Regions from separate parts of the Homo sapiens genome. Here all the other regions are linked to region 1. The links are contacts of gene promoters, found by promoter capture Hi-C in blood cells and fetal thymus (Javierre and others, 2016). All regions are on one chromosome and are shown on one strand. The core of a region is centred on a gene start or on the middle of the fragment in contact, and the rest is flanking DNA. Distances in the headings are between cores, read along the strand shown.

Region 1 (3,747 bases), core at 532-3,031:
CAAGCAACCTTCAGATTATTACACAGCTTTTCAGTTAGATTTCCTACAAAAGATAAAGTAATGTGCCTATGAAAATGAGAATTTGGTCTTTGGTTAACCTGGCTGTACTGGAGAGCACTGAACCCATCTCGAGATGCCAATGACACTTCTGAGTTTGCAAGCCAGTGCCCTAGATAGACTCTGGAATTCACCCAGGAAGCGCGGACTAATCAGCTTTCTCTGAAGATAACTGCTCACACACCCAGCCAACTATTTTAAACTAGAACTGATGTTCCTATTGGATTAAAGCCTGACACGAAGTATGTATTTTTCAGTTTAAGCACAGGACAGTTAGTTTTATGAAGTATTTTGAAAATGCATGAACTTAATGATTTAATATTAAAAGCTTATGGAGATATCCTAAACGGCAACTTAAATTACTCTTCCAGATAAAACATATATGGTACTTACATATACTCTTTATTAAATAAACAAAAACAATCCAACAACTGCTTGTCACCTTTTTAAGTATATTTTTATACTTACAGCATATATGTAAACAATATATTTTTCTTTCAAAAGTTAGTTATTACAGGATGCATTAACAAGATGCCCTCTGGGAAAATTTCAGCTTTCTTTTAATGAAACTTATTTCAAGGTTAAGTTAAAAGAAGTCACACTAAAGGGAAATCTGTTGTCTTCTTCGGGAAAATGATATAAGAATATTAATAATCTAATAGAATAAATATGCTTTCAATAATGAAACAAAAAAACACAACTTCGCAGCTGGCTATTTTTATTGTCCTTTGAAGAATTCTCTCCCAAGCTACTGAAACTTAAAGTATCACACTGTGACAGACTTTAATCCCATCTTACCTGGTGTCCACATTTCTAAAGAAGCTGCTTATTGCCTCATCATAAATTCCTTTCTAAAAAGAAAAACATATGTTAATAGCATTTAGGTTTTGCTTCTCGCCCAAATCAAGTTCTTTCAATTTTAATTACATAATACTGTAATGGCTAGGATGAGACTCTGATAAGAAAAACCAAGTATCACAAAATGCGGAGCCTGACTCTTCCCAATCTCCTTAGAAGAGTAAATGCCAGATCTACAGATAAAAAGTTCAGCAGGGGGTGCTAAAGAAAGGATTTCACCCATAGGACTGTAGGACAGGTCCATCAAATGAGCGTTCTCTGGATTCTTCGTAATCTTTTTAAAAGCTGACTGGTTAAATTAAGGAATACAATAACCACACGTGTTATCTATTTTACAAAGTACTTTCCCATATACAAATCTCACTGTTCTGCACACGAACACCAATAAAGAGGAGACCCTGAGAATCAGGAAAAACGTTAAGACTAAGGTCGCTGGCCAGTGTTCTTTTAGTTTAGTGTGTGTCTGACGCAACATGTTTAAAAACCAGTACGTTCTTTACTGGGAAGATCCCATGCATCTTAAACGGGTCAGATGAAAGCTCAAGTCGATTATTTCCTGCGTATGGGCTGGAAGACCTAGCTGACAGGCGAGGGGGCTCGCGGCGGCGGGCGGGTACCTGGTTGACCGCGGCGTGCTCCCTTAGTGCCAGGTCCCAGAAGCAGCAGCCGATCTGGTTTCCGCACTGGCCGACTGCGACCGGAGGAGAGGAAGGAAAGAGAATAGGACATTAAGCAGGAAACATGGCCGCTGGATTCCGCGGCGACCAGGTCTCTACCCGCCCGGCGTAGCTTACCCTGTACGACCACCGACTGGGTCATGGTGGTGCGCCGCCGGCTCCGGGAGCTTGCTAGCCCGCGGCCGCTTCTGCATTCCCCCAGCAACGGCGCTCTGCTAGAGAGCTGCCGTAAGTCACGCTACTGCCGCAAGCCTCTGCCGTCGCTAAGCACGTCTGTAGGTTCAGGCTAAGGTTTTCCGTCAGAAGGCCGCGCAAGTGCACTTGCGTGTCACCGTTACCGTAGCGACTGGGCTTCTGGACTGTATATCCTAGCTGCCTTGTCAACATCTTCGAGCATCGGCAGCTCCGGAGGCCGGGGTAACTGGCAGGTAACTAGGCTTTGGAGTGGTATTTTAAAATATGTGTCGTTAAGCTGTTCGTGGGCTATCAGAGGTTTAATTTTTGTTCACAGCCTCAACACCCGGGGCGGTGGATCAGTCCGTTTATTCAGATTCCACGGGACGCTGCGTTGGCATCTCTGTTCAACAAGCCCTTTATTCTAATAGAAAATGAACAATGGCGTTGAGCAAAGAGAAACCCCAGAGAAATAGTCATGTCAGGGCACAATTGAAACTAGATGGTTATACGCTTTGACAAAAATGGCAAAGCTAAGGTCACAGACCCAACCAGTATTTGTTGAACGCTGTATACTCCCCAAATTAACTTGTAGGCTCGCTGGGAAGATTAGAAAGAAATTAAGGCATAGATCCAGTTCCAAGAAGCTTACAATCTAATTGAAGACATACACGCGAAATACTTAAAGAATTGTGTGGCGTTGACTATAAGTGCAATAGGATTCAGTGGTTGAGGATGTAGATGAGTATGTAGAAGTCTGATAGAAGACACGAGATTAACACTAGGCATTTAGATGGGTATTTAGATGGGATAGGCAGGAGAAGATTAAAAAGTTAGGCATTATGACAATTACCAACTACTTAAAATTGTCAAACATTAAAATATGTAAACTTCTATTGATCAAATTAGACCAGATTTTAATTAAGAACTCAAGTACTTCTTTAATGAAATTAATATTTTCCACAAAAATTCTGAAGAACTACGAAACTCTAAGAAGTCTTCTTTGTTTAATAAAAAGTTATATGGTATGTGCTATGAATATGTGCTAATATGAACTGTAATATTCAATGGATTAGAACACTTTATTGTCCCACCAAGACACGTAGTAGTTACTATTAAATTTCTCTGGTAGCCGGTAGGTTTAAAGTTGCAATGGATTTTATATCTTTTGGTAATAGGCAGCTTTCGGTCAGTAAATTTTTGTAGGCTGGATTTATTCTTAACTTCTTACTGAGTATGGGGTCAGTGGTAGAGGTAAAGTTGGGCATTTTAGGTCTTGATGCTAAAGTCCCAACGTCTGGGGCTTCCAAAATTTGCAAGTCTTGGTCCAGTTTGTAGGCAGTGATGTGAATAGGTCTGTATCAGTGTGTTATCAGTGCTAGGTGAGATGATACACTGGCCTTTGCAGAGCCCTACCCTTCATGCAGTCCCAGTCATTATTCCCCACACAGGAAAGAAAAGTCCTAACACATCTTATTAATAACTTCAGTCTCTAGAGAATCAGACTGAGAGACAGTTCTGCTTAAGAGCCAAGCAAGGTAGAGCCTCACATGCCAGCCACTCCAAAACTTCCGTATATGCAAACCCGGGTGAGCCAAGTTGAGATCGGTTGAACCGCAGCGGGCTATTCAGAATATTATAAGCAAGAGAAATGTTTTTGGTTGAAATTACTGAAATTTTGGGGTGCAGTTTTATTGTAGTGATAGCTGACCAACATACAGAGCAAATAGAGTGAACAGAATTCCACATGCTGAAAATGAAAAAGAAAAAAATTATTGGGAATCCTATGGACTCCTAAAATTGAAGGAAGGAAGACAAGGATGGAAGGGAGAGAGGGAGGGAAGGGGGAGAGGAAGGAAGGAACGATGTAAAAGATGGATAAAGTACAAGACCTTGGGGTAAAACCTAGCCTAAGAGGGGAGAAAAGAAAATTCATCATATCTACTTTGTGCTGAAGAAGAACTTAAGAATATGAATGCAA
Region 2 (3,747 bases), core at 413-2,912, 1.1 Mb before region 1:
CTGTCACCCAGGCTGGAGTGCAGTGGCACGATCTCGGCTCACTACAAGCTCCGCCTCCCGGGTTCATGCCATTCTCCTGCCTCAGCTGGGACTACAGGCATCCACCACCATGCCCGGCTAATTTTTTATATTTTTAGTAGAGACAGGGTTTCACCATGTTAGCCAGGATGGTCTTGATCTCCTGACCTCATGATCTGCCCGCCTCAGCCTCCCAAAGTGCTGGGATTACAGGCGTGAGCCACCGTGCCCAGCCTAATTTTTGTATTTTTAGTAGAGATGGGGTTTCACCATGTTGGCCAGGAAGGTCTCGATCTCTTGACCTTGTGATCCACCCGCCTCGGCCTCCCAAAGTGCTGGAATTACAAGTGTGAGCCATCGCTCCCGGCCAAGTTTCCTAATTTTCTAAGTGTCAGTTTCCCAAAGTGTAAAATGGAAGTTAGACTAATGAGGGCTGATATTTAGCTTGTATGCACTGATTAAAAACATACCAGTTGTTAAATTAGAGACATTTTTCCCGTATCAGCCAGTAACAAGCAACCACCGCAAGCCTTTAGCTCACTCCAGGCCTCCCCATGATCCAACTTTCCCAGGACCCTACCCCAGCATGGCTGAGTCGTTGTGCCCTGCTAGTTAATTGTTAAATAATCTTGATAATTCATTAAATGTCATTCTTGATAATAGTTATCTTTTGAGACTATCATGAGGCTGATAACCTATATGTCACACTTGGTAGTTTACTTTTAAAGTAAACTGGCTTCCAAATTAACTTGCCTTGGGGAGGTCTTGTGACTCATGGCAACATCCTATCCCTGAGTAAAGAATCTGTGCGCTCTTCAAATTGTTGACATACTGATTAATGCATAACTTACTGACAATGGAAAGGACACTGACTTCTGATCATGAAGTTTTACTGATTGTCTTGCACACAGACATTTTATCCTGCATGTTGCAATCTGTAGCCAATGACTGTAACTTCTGTACTGTCTGTACGCTCCAATAACTTTGGTATAAGGAGTACTCCTCCCTTCTCCTTCCCTCCCTCTCCTTCTCCTCCCTTCTCCTAAAAAAGGCCGTCCTTTTAAAAGCCTGTTCCAGTAACTTGTAACAGACTCCAGAACACTCCTAACTCTGGTTGGTGTGTCTTCCCAGTTCAATCCTCACATTTGGCTTCCAATAAATGTTTTTCAAATTATTTCTGCCTCAGCAGCCTTAGTTTCAGTAGACAAGGCTTAAAGTGGGTTCAGTTAAAGCAAACTAATAACACTTGACCCTTTCCAACTTTTCTTCCTCTCAGCCATGGGTCCTTAAGCCATCTTTTTTGGATCCAGAGCCAAATTATATTTCTATGCAGCCACCATGGTTCTAGCCCTTATCTAGCTTTCAAAGATTTTTCCTTGATCGCCCCAAGCAAATTTCCTCTGCTCTGTTCAGTTTAAAAGTGTTTCTATTCTTTTTTTAAACAAAAAACAAAAGGAAAAAAACAGCTTTATCAAGATATAATTCATATACCATAAAAATCACCCTTTAAAAATATACAGTTGGTTTTTTTTTTTTTTTTTGGTACATTAACAGAACTGTGCAACCATTGCCATTAATTTCAGAACATTTTCATCACCCAAAAAGAAACTCCTGGCTGCTCTGCCTATGGAGTAGCCCTTCTTTATTCCTTTACTTTCTTAATAAACTTGCTTTCACTTTTCTCAATGGACTCTCCCCAACTTCTTTCTTGTGTGAGGTCCAACAACCCTCTCTTGGGGTCTGGATCAGGACCCCTTTCCAGTAACATCTTCCTGGCAAACCATGAAGCAACTAAACTGAGGAGACTCCCAACCCAAAGGAAATAGACCGAAGCACCACAATTGGCTGACTTTGGAATCAAGAAAACTTTTCCTTTGAGCTATTTATAGCTTTTAAAAATTGAGTAAAGTATATTCCTGTGAACAAACTTTGGAGCATATTAGTCTCTCTCTACCTGTTTTCTCTAGAATTTGGAAACTATATCACCTTTTGTCAGAACTCAAGAGTTATGAGTGGCCCTCACCATACTGATGCTTTCTGACTAAGCTCCTCTCTACTCTGAATACAAGAGCCCCTCATAGTTAGGCAGGAATATAATTGCCCCTATTCATCCTGAAAAAGTGACAGAAAATGGATCTTCATCCCTCTACAACCCTTAGGATTAAGGGTTCCCTTGTAAAAGGGTGGGGGAATATGTCAGAGGCGTTTGAACTAGAGCAACTCCATCTTTAATAGGGGCTGGGTAAAATAAGACTGAGACCTACTGGGCTGCATTCCCATGAGGTTAGGCATTCTAAGTCACAGGATGAGATAGGAGGTCAGCACGAGATACAGGTCATAAAGACCTTGTGGATAAAACAAGATGAAGTAAAGAAGCTGGCCAAAACCCACCAAAACCAAGATGGTGACGAGAGTGACCTCTGGTCATCCTCATTGTTCATTATATGCTAATTATAATGCATTAGCATGCTAAAAGACAGTCCCACCAGCGCCATGACAGTTTACAGATCCCATGGCAATGTCCAGAAATTACCCTATATGGTCTAAGTCGGGGAGGAACCCTCAGTTCTGCGAATTGCCCACCCCTTTCCTGGAAAACTCATAAATAACCCACCCCTTGTTTAGCATATAATCAAAAATGAACTTAATTAAGTATTATCAGTAGAGCAGCCCAAACTGCTGCTCTGCCTATGGAGTAGCCATTCCTTTATTCCTTTACTTTCTTTTTTTTGAGACGGAGTTTCACTCTTGTCGCCCGGGCTGGAGTGCAGGGGCACGATCTTGGCTCACCACAACCTCCGCCTCTTGTGTTCAAGCGATTCTCCCACCTCAGTCTCCCAAGTAGCTGGGATTACAGGCACCCGCCACCACACCCAGCTAATTTTTGTATTTTTAGTGGAGACAGGGTTTTGCCATGTTGGCCAGCTGGTCTCGAACTCCTAACCTCAGGTGATCCACCTGCCTCGGCCTCCCAAAGTACTGGGATTACAGGCATGAGCCACCACACCCGGCTCCTTTACTTTCTTAATAAACTTGCTTTTACTTAAAAAAAAAAAAAAAAAAAGGAACTCCTCATCCAGTAGCAGTCGCTCCTCATTCCACCATCCTCCCAAGCCCCTGGCAACCACTAATCTCTCTCTCTCTTTAAAGATAGAGATGGGATCTCTCTATGTTGCCCAGGCTGGTCTCAAACTCCTGGCCTCAAGGGATACTCCTACCTTGGACTCCCAAAGAGCTGGGATTATAGGTGTGAGCCACCACGCCCAACCTACTATCTCTCTTTATAGGCTTGCCTATTCTGGACATTTCATATAAATGGAACCATTCAGTATGTGGTCCTCTGTGTCTTGACTTCTTTCACTTGGCACAATGTTTTCTCTTTTTTGAGACAGGGTCTTACTCTGTCACCCAGGCTGGAGTACAGTAAGTGGCATGATTGCAGCTCATTGCAGCTTCGAGATCCTGGGCTCAAGCGAGCCTCCCACCTCAGCACCCCCAAGAACCTGAAACTAAACACATGCGCCACCATACCTGGGTAATTTTTAAAATTTTTTGTAGAGACGAGATCTCACTACATGGCCCAGTCTGGTCTCAAACTCCTGGGCTTAAGCAGTCCTCCCGCCTCAGCCTCCCAAAGTTCTGGGATTACAGGCCTGAGCCACTGCACCCCGCTCCTTTTAATCTTTTTAGGAATTCTAAGTCATTGAGAGTAGACTGTATTAAGAATGG
Region 3 (3,747 bases), core at 842-3,341, 1.1 Mb before region 1:
CACGAGGTCAGGAGATCGAGACCATCCTGGCTAACACGGTGAAACCTCGTCTGTACTAAAAATACAAAAAATTAGCCGGGCGTCGTGGCGGGCGCCTGTAGTCCCAGCTACTCGGGAGGCTGAGGCAGGAGAATGGCGTGAACCTGGGAGACGGAGCTTGCAGTGAGCCGAGATCGCACCACTGCACTCCAGCCTGGGCGACAGAGCGAGACTCTGTCTCAAAAAAATAAATAAATAAATAAATAAGAATTGTAACTCTCAGGATTGTGGTGAAGATTAAGCCTTAATAGAGTGACTCCATGTAAACATCAGCCTTATTATTCCCCATTGTTGGCAATAATACTGGCATTCTCAGCAATGATGTTGGAGTGCAACAGTGTATACTTCCTGGCAGGCATTGTGGTCTTAAACCTAAAAGAAAAATAAGCAGTCGTTAGTCTTATGTTTAGTAAATGTCCACAGGTTGATCAGCAGTTGATGCTCAATTCTTTGTATTAGGGTACAGGATACAGTTTGACTACTTAAAGTTTGAAGAAAAAAGAAGAGTAAGAAAGAGTAAGAGAAAAAAAACAGCAACAGTATTTACTTGAGCCTTTTATTTTTTACTTAAAAAAAAGATTGGAAAGAGCAGTAATAAAAGAATGGTGGGAATACAAAAATGAAAGCTTTTTTTTAAAAGCTATCAAAACACTTATTTAACAATAATAAGGAAATATCTTTTACTAATATCTACCAAAAAAGTGAGATTTTGGCCGGCCCTTGTGGCTCGCACCTGTAATCCCAGCACTTTGGGAGCCGAGGTGAGCGGATCACCTGAGGTCAGTAGTTCGAGAATAGCCTGACCAACATGGCGAAACCCTGTCTCTGCTAAAAATACAAAAATTACCCAGGCGTGGTGGTGTGTGCCTGTAATTCTAGCTACTCGGGAGGCTGAGGCAGGAGAATTGCTTGAACTCAGGAGGTGGATGTTGCAGTGAGCCAAGATTGTGCCATCACTCTCCAGCCTGGGTGACAGAGTGAGACTCCATCTCAAAAACAAACAAAAAAAAACAAACAAAAAAAAGAAAGTGAGATTTTTTTTAAGGGTGGAACCCTAAGTGACAAATATGTTTTTAAGAATTTTCATATTAGTTAAGTCATGGCTTTGCAATGTGAGGAAAATGTTTAAATAGTTATGAATTGTGCTTTTCTGAACAGAAAGCCCAAAACGAAAAGAGCCAAGAGATTCCTTGAGAAGAGAGAACCGAAACTCAATGAAAATATTAAAAATGCCATGCTGATTAAAGGGGGAAATGCAAATGCAACAGTGACAAAAGTACTTAAAGATGTGGTAAGTATATATACTTAATCTTTAAAAGGTATTGAAGTCATTTTAGAATTTTCAGCATGCTAGGATGGGCTGTCGGAGAAATACGTAGATAAGCTTGCCTTACCATAAGAACTACTAGTCTTAGAGAAGAGCTAAAGTTGGGGGTTTATTTACCTTGCGTGGCACCTTTTCTTAAAGCAACTAGTTCTCTTAGTAAATTTTATTATTGTTTTTTAGGAGCACAGGTGGGTCTGGTAGAGTGAAGGTCTCCCTTAGTAAATTTAAACTGTTTTCAATTACTAGAATTTGGCTTACTTACATTTTAGGAAAAAATCTAATTTGTAAAGAGAAGTAACTGCATATTGCTGTATATTTAGTCATTCAACAACACCGGTTACTGTGCCTCTGCTGGGAATTAATAGGTGAGACACAGTTCTTTCAGTGAGCTTAGAGAGATAGACATGTAAAAAGTTCTTACACTGTGCTGTGCTGGAGGCATGGACAGGGTAGGGTGGGAAACAGTTAAAATCACATAGGGGAGGCCAGGCACGGTGGTTCACGCCTGTAATCCCAGCACTTTGGGAGGCCGAGGCAGGAGGATCACGAAGTCAGAAGTTCGAGACCAGCCTGGCCAACATGGTGAAACCCCGTCTCTACTAAAAGTACAAAAATTAGCCGGGTGTGGTGGCGGGCGCCTGTAGTCCCAGTTGCTCGGGAGGCTGAGGCAGGAGAATCGCCTGAACCTGGGAGGTGGAGGTCACAGTCAGTCGAGATTGTGCCACTGCTCCAGCCTGAGTGACAGAGAGAGACTCCATTTCAAAAAAAAAAAAAAAAAATCACATAGGGGGACCCCCACACAGGGTAGGTTCCCCCAGAGATAACACTGCAGCTTCATTTTGAAGGAGAAGTTGGTGCAAGAAGTGGGAGAGAAAGAGAAGATCCTCTGAGGCTGAGAAAGAAGTTTGTGCAAAAGGGAGTATGAAGGAGCATTGATGCATTTGGAGAACTGTAAATAATTGGGCATGGCCAAAGGAGAGTGGGCTAGATGAGGCTAGAAGAGGAGGCATGGGTCACATAGTAACATGAAATTTGAATTCTAATCTGAAAGCTCCGTGTAATCATTGAAAGATATTAAGCAAGAGATACCATCAGTCCTTTTAATTGGCTTGATTAGAGAGGGTTGAGAGCAAATGTAGGAAACTAAGCCATTGCTGCCAGCTAGGTGAAGAGCATCTGGAGTCCAGTGGTGGCAATGAAAATGAGAAATGACCAGAAAGAATAGATGTTGAGGAAAGAAGAGTTGGGAACTAGTGAAAAGTATGACTTCCCAGGTGTTTGGCTTGAGTGCCTGATGGGCAATAATGCCAATTAGAAAATGTATCAAGCGGAGCAGGTTTGGAGGGAAAGGTGAAAGGTTCGGTTTGGGACATGTAATTTAAGTAATGAAAATAAAAGCTTTGTTTTTTCTACCTCTGTAGCCTAGTGTACAGCCCAGTGTCTGGACATAGTAGGTACTCAATATATATGTAATCTATGAAAGAAAGGCATAGTATGGGCCAGGCACAGTGGCTCACACCTGTAATCCCAGCACTTTGGGAGGCCGAGGTGGGCGGATCACGGGGTCAGGAGTTCGAGACCAGCCTGGCTAACACGGTGAAATCCTGTCTCTACTAAAAATGCAAAAATTAGCCAGCCATGGTGGTGGGCGCCTGTAATCCCAGCTACTAGGGAGGCTGAGGCCGGAAAATCTGCTTGGACCTGGGAGATGGAGGTTGGAGTGAGCTGAGACCACGCCATTGCACTTACTCCAGCCTGGGTAACAGAGCAAGACTCCAACTAAAAAAAAAAAAAAGACATAGTATGTGGAGATATCTAGTAGGTTATTTGACTAATTAGGCCTTGAGTACAGCCAATAGATCTTTGAATTAAATCAATTAAGTAATCGAATACATTTTTGTTGTTGTTATTGAGGTGGAGTCTCACGCTGTTGCCCAGGCTGAAGTGCAGTGGTGCCATCTTGGCTTACTGCAACCTCTGACTCCCGGGTTCAGGCGATTCTCCTGCCTCTAGCCTCCCAAGTAGCTGGGAGCCACCACACCCAGCTAATTTCTGTGTTCTTTTAGTAGAGACAGGGTTTCACCATGTTGGCCAGGCTGGTCACAAACTCCTGACCTGACATGATCTGTCCGCCTCGGCCTCCCAAAGTGCTGAGATTACAGGAGTGAGCCACCATGCCTGGCTTTGAATATATTTTAAACTTGACCAAACTCTATGCCTGATAAGCATAGTCAATTCAGATGTCTGAATGCCTTATATAGGCCCATCCCTTTTTTGAAATGTTTGTCTGAATTTCATTGTGCTAACGGGAAACTGCCCCTCTCCTTCTAGTATCCATCAGCACAATGACCCTGCATATTTAAGTAAGCTTTAAAAGCAGC
Region 4 (3,747 bases), core at 755-3,254, 1.0 Mb before region 1:
AAAAATGGCTGTTGAATGAATGAATAAGGAGCAGGAAGTGATAGGCACTGAAACAACATAGGCACTAAACAAGCTATAATACGTGAGAACTGGAGACAGTCTGGGTTGAAAACTAAAAAGGGATCTGTGTGATTCAATACAGCACTAAACAGGGCTCCTTGATTATTTCAGAGACTGGGAACTTCATGTTCTAAACCTTGCTTTTTTCATAACCGTGTGACTGTGGTGTCTTAATCTCTCTATGGTTGAGCAAGGGACTACAACCGTATCATCAGACCCCCTCCTTTGATATACTTTGTGAATTGGGCTCCATCCTAAAGTTTAAGAAAGGAGCTAGAGTTAGAAAAATGCACAATTGCCTCTCAACTGTAAATCCCTTCAAATCCACAGTAAGAAATGAAACAGATGAAACTGTTGAACAAACATTTCCTTTTCTGTGTAGGAATGTGGTCATCACAAAAGAGAACTACTAGTTAAATTACAACCTTACGCTGGTGCTTACGTGAGCTTCTGTCTTTCTCCTGTTGACCTTCAGGAAGCTACAATGATGATTAGTATCTAATTTGGAAATTAATTACCTTATCTAGTTTTGAGACGTACTAGTTTCAAGAGACTGACGAGAATTGTGCCAAATTTGCTCCCTCAAATTCTTATATCATAGAAAGTGGCCATTATTGGAGATATATATATATATATTTTAACCTTTTAAAAGGTTGTTTGACTATAAAAGCCCATATCACTCTTAATTTGTGATTTGTGCCAGGTCAGGGAAGAAAGCCCAGACTTAAATGTGGCCAGAAACCACAGTGCAGAAAGATTTAACAGTCCTCCCCACATTTTAGAATGAGTTGGAAAGGAGTCAAAATTTAATCTTAAAATCTCACAAATGCTTTATGACTACAATTAGTGCTCAAAGCTATCAGGTGGTGTAGACATGCACTACTATTATAGAAACTGAGTAGTACATCTAGGTTTCCCAACAGAAAGATTTCTTTGAGGCTAAACTCATCATAAATGGTAAGGACCTTTCCTTCCTTCCTCCCTCCTTCCCTCCTTTCCTTCCTTCTTTCTTCTGTCTTTCTTTCTCTTTTTTTTTTTTTTTTTTTTTTGACAGAGTCTCGCTCTATGGCCCAGGCTGGAATGCAGTGGCATGATCTTGGCTCACTACGACCTCTGTCTCCCGGGTTCAAGCAATTCTCCTGCCTCAGCTTCCTGAGTAGCTGAGATTACAGGTGCACACCACCACGCCCAGCGAATTTTTGTATTTTTAGTAGAGACAGAGTTTCACCATGTTGGCCAGGCTGGTCTGGAATTCCTGGCCTCAAATGATCCACCACCCACCGTGGGCTCCCAAGGTTCTGGGATTACAGTCACGAGCCACTGTGCTGGCCAGGATCTATTTTTTATTAAAATAATTAAATATATTTCATTATATGATAAATAGAAATTGGAAGAGACAAGGAACAGATTCTCCCTTGGAGCCTCCAGCCCTGCTAACATCTTAATTTTAGCCCGGTAAGACTGACTTCAGACTGCTGACCTTCAAATCTGTAAGAGAATCAATTTGTGCTATTTTAAGCCAGTACATTGTGGGGATTTGTTATAGCAGTAATAGGAAACCAATACAATCCTCATTTCAAAATAGTTCCCAATATGGCCGCTGCAGTGGCACACCTGTAATCCCAGTACTTTGGGAGGCCTTGGCAGGAGGATTGCTTGAGCACAGGAGTTCGAGCAGCCAGCCTGGGTAACATAGTGAGACCTTGTCTGTTAAAAAAAAAAAAAAAAAAAGATCTTTTAAAAAATTTCTAATATATTATTTTTTATTAGACTATTGGACGTCTGGAGGGTATGTGGGCAGTAGGAGATGAAATCCTTTTGTCTCTGTGGGTGGCGGTGTTCAAATATTTTCCACTTTGGTATTTCAAAAGCTTTGTAATGTGTTGTGTTTATTTTATTCATCTGTTTTTGTCTCCCTTTATCAAGCTCTCTGGCTACATAGCCCATCATATTTTTTCTACTCTTATTTAAGAAACTGTCTCATGAAGAGCTGTCTGAGTCAGGGAAGAGTCAAAATCGAAGCTTCTATTTGTGCCTTTTGTCACAAACCTCCCACACTTGTTCCATTCTTCCTTCACACTCCAAGTCTTTTAGTCTTTCTCTTTCTCAAGATGTCCCCCTCCTCTTATATCTCCTTTTCTGTCCCTCTGCTCCACTTACTTCCACTTAATTGATCACTGTTTTCTTCTCCTCTTTTGCTCTGGAGCTCTCTCTCACCTGTCATATTCTTGAGTTTCCACCTGATCTTGTTCAAGAGTCCAGACCCTTTGCCTACTTCACCCTCCAGAATTTCTCAGCCAGTGGTTGAATCTCAACCAGAGGCGTCAGAAGTTCTCAGAGTTTGAAAGGGTTTCAAAGATTATTCTAACCATTCACGTTTGAAGTCTCCCCTCCTGCCTGACATATTTGATAAATAAATAATTTCCTTCTTTCCAAAAGTTGTTTTTTATTTCTTTTTACTTTATTTTTTTGAAACAGGGTTTTGGTCTGTTGCCCAGGCTGGAGTGCAGTGGCACAATCATAGCTCTCTGCAGCCTCTAACTCCTGGGCTCAATGATCCTCCTGCCCCAGCCTCCCAAAGCACTGGGATTACAGGCGTGAACCACTGCACCCTGTCTGTGTCTGTTTTGTCCTACCTGTTTGTCAGGCCTATGCTCAGCCTTTGCCTGAGATCCCCAGGATGGCGGGTCACTCCTTTATGAGGCAGTCTACCCTGACTTTGGACAGCTCTGATGGAGAAGGAGTTCTTCTTTCTGCTGAGATAGCAATCTTTTTCCTTCTAAGTCTGATCCATGAGTTTAATTCTATCCCTTATGTCACTTGTAACAATATCATTTCCTTATCCACATGCTAGTCCTCCAATATTTGAAGATAATCTTCACATCCCCTACTGAGTTTTCCTCTGCTCCAGGCTTAATATCTCTAGTCTTTTGAACTATTTCACAAATGATGAATTTTAGCTTTGTGGTTACCCTCTTCTGATTTTTTTGGTCCCTGCTTCACTTAGAGTGATGTGCAGGGCTGACTGAATACACCAGAGCAGAGGGTCACTGTTACTGCTCATTACGCCAGTGCTGTCTAATAGAACTTTCGGTGATTAGGAAAATGTTCTGTATCTGTGCTGTCCAATCATAACCACCTGTGGTTATTGGGCATTTGACATACGGCTGATGAGAATGAAGAACTGAACTTCTAATTTTACTTTAATTATTTTAAATTTAAATAGCTGCGTATGGCCAGCGGTGATCACATTGGGCAGCACAATTCTAGATGTTATATTTGTAATAATGTAGTTTAATTTTGCATGGTTTTGGAGTAGCCATAGGTTCATCTTGAGTTTACTTCTCTGAAAACTCTTAATTCTTTACTGATGCTAAACCAGTTTGTTGTCACTTGTCATATAAGTACAATTGTCATATAATAGGAGAAACCTATTTTGTGTTTCTCCCTGGCTAGCATGTTAAAATGGCATGTTTTCCACCATTCTTAATTCTGACTTGTGGCCATCTATGTATTCTGAGTCTAGCTCAGTACTCTCTTCTCATTGTACTTCTTGGTTTCCTGATTCTGACCCTGAAGTCTGGAATCCAGATTTTGAGTTGGTATTCTTTAGGTCTTCTGCTTGTTCTTACATTATATATGCCATTTATTTATTCTATATGTTTATATGGAGCACCTTTCAAGTTC

Evidence for each region. Contacts are between HindIII fragments. The CHiCAGO score rates a contact against its expected background, and 5 or more counts as called.
Region 2: a contact is called between a fragment that was not itself captured here and the fragment with the promoter of TUBE1 in region 1, in 2 of 17 cell types (naive CD4 T cells and naive CD8 T cells). The highest score is 6.2, in naive CD4 T cells.
Region 3: a contact is called between a fragment that was not itself captured here and the fragment with the promoter of TUBE1 in region 1, in 5 of 17 cell types (total CD4 T cells, total CD8 T cells, naive CD4 T cells and 2 more). The highest score is 8.5, in total CD4 T cells.
Region 4: a fragment that was not itself captured here is called in contact with the fragment with the promoter of TUBE1 in region 1 in 2 of 17 cell types (total CD4 T cells and non-activated CD4 T cells); the score reaches 5.3 in total CD4 T cells.

What each region holds. Positions count from the first base shown.
Region 1 is chr6:112,085,701-112,089,447 of GRCh38, forward strand. TUBE1 (tubulin epsilon 1) reads right to left here and starts at 1,782. Exons shown (of 12, transcript NM_016262.5): 1 at 1,710-1,782; 2 at 1,533-1,606; 3 at 856-908. The coding sequence starts at 1,734. FAM229B (family with sequence similarity 229 member B) reads left to right here and starts at 1,891. Exons shown (of 4, transcript NM_001033564.3): 1 at 1,891-2,020. RefSeq lists enhancers at 1,312-1,361, 1,496-2,027, 1,762-1,951. The HindIII fragment of the contact is 2,028 bases long and covers 384-2,411 here.
Region 2 is chr6:110,951,613-110,955,359 of GRCh38, forward strand. No RefSeq gene overlaps it. Among named protein-coding and RNA genes, the nearest start is that of GTF3C6, 5.2 kb to the right of the region's middle. The HindIII fragment of the contact is 4,472 bases long and covers 1-3,747 here.
Region 3 is chr6:110,983,809-110,987,555 of GRCh38, forward strand. It overlaps RPF2 (ribosome production factor 2 homolog), which reads left to right. Exons shown (of 10, transcript NM_032194.3): 2 at 1,198-1,330. Among named protein-coding and RNA genes, the nearest start is that of RPF2, 3.6 kb to the left of the region's middle. The HindIII fragment of the contact is 1,341 bases long and covers 1,422-2,762 here.
Region 4 is chr6:111,070,344-111,074,090 of GRCh38, forward strand. No RefSeq gene overlaps it. Among named protein-coding and RNA genes, the nearest start is that of SLC16A10, 15 kb to the right of the region's middle. The HindIII fragment of the contact is 151 bases long and covers 1,930-2,080 here.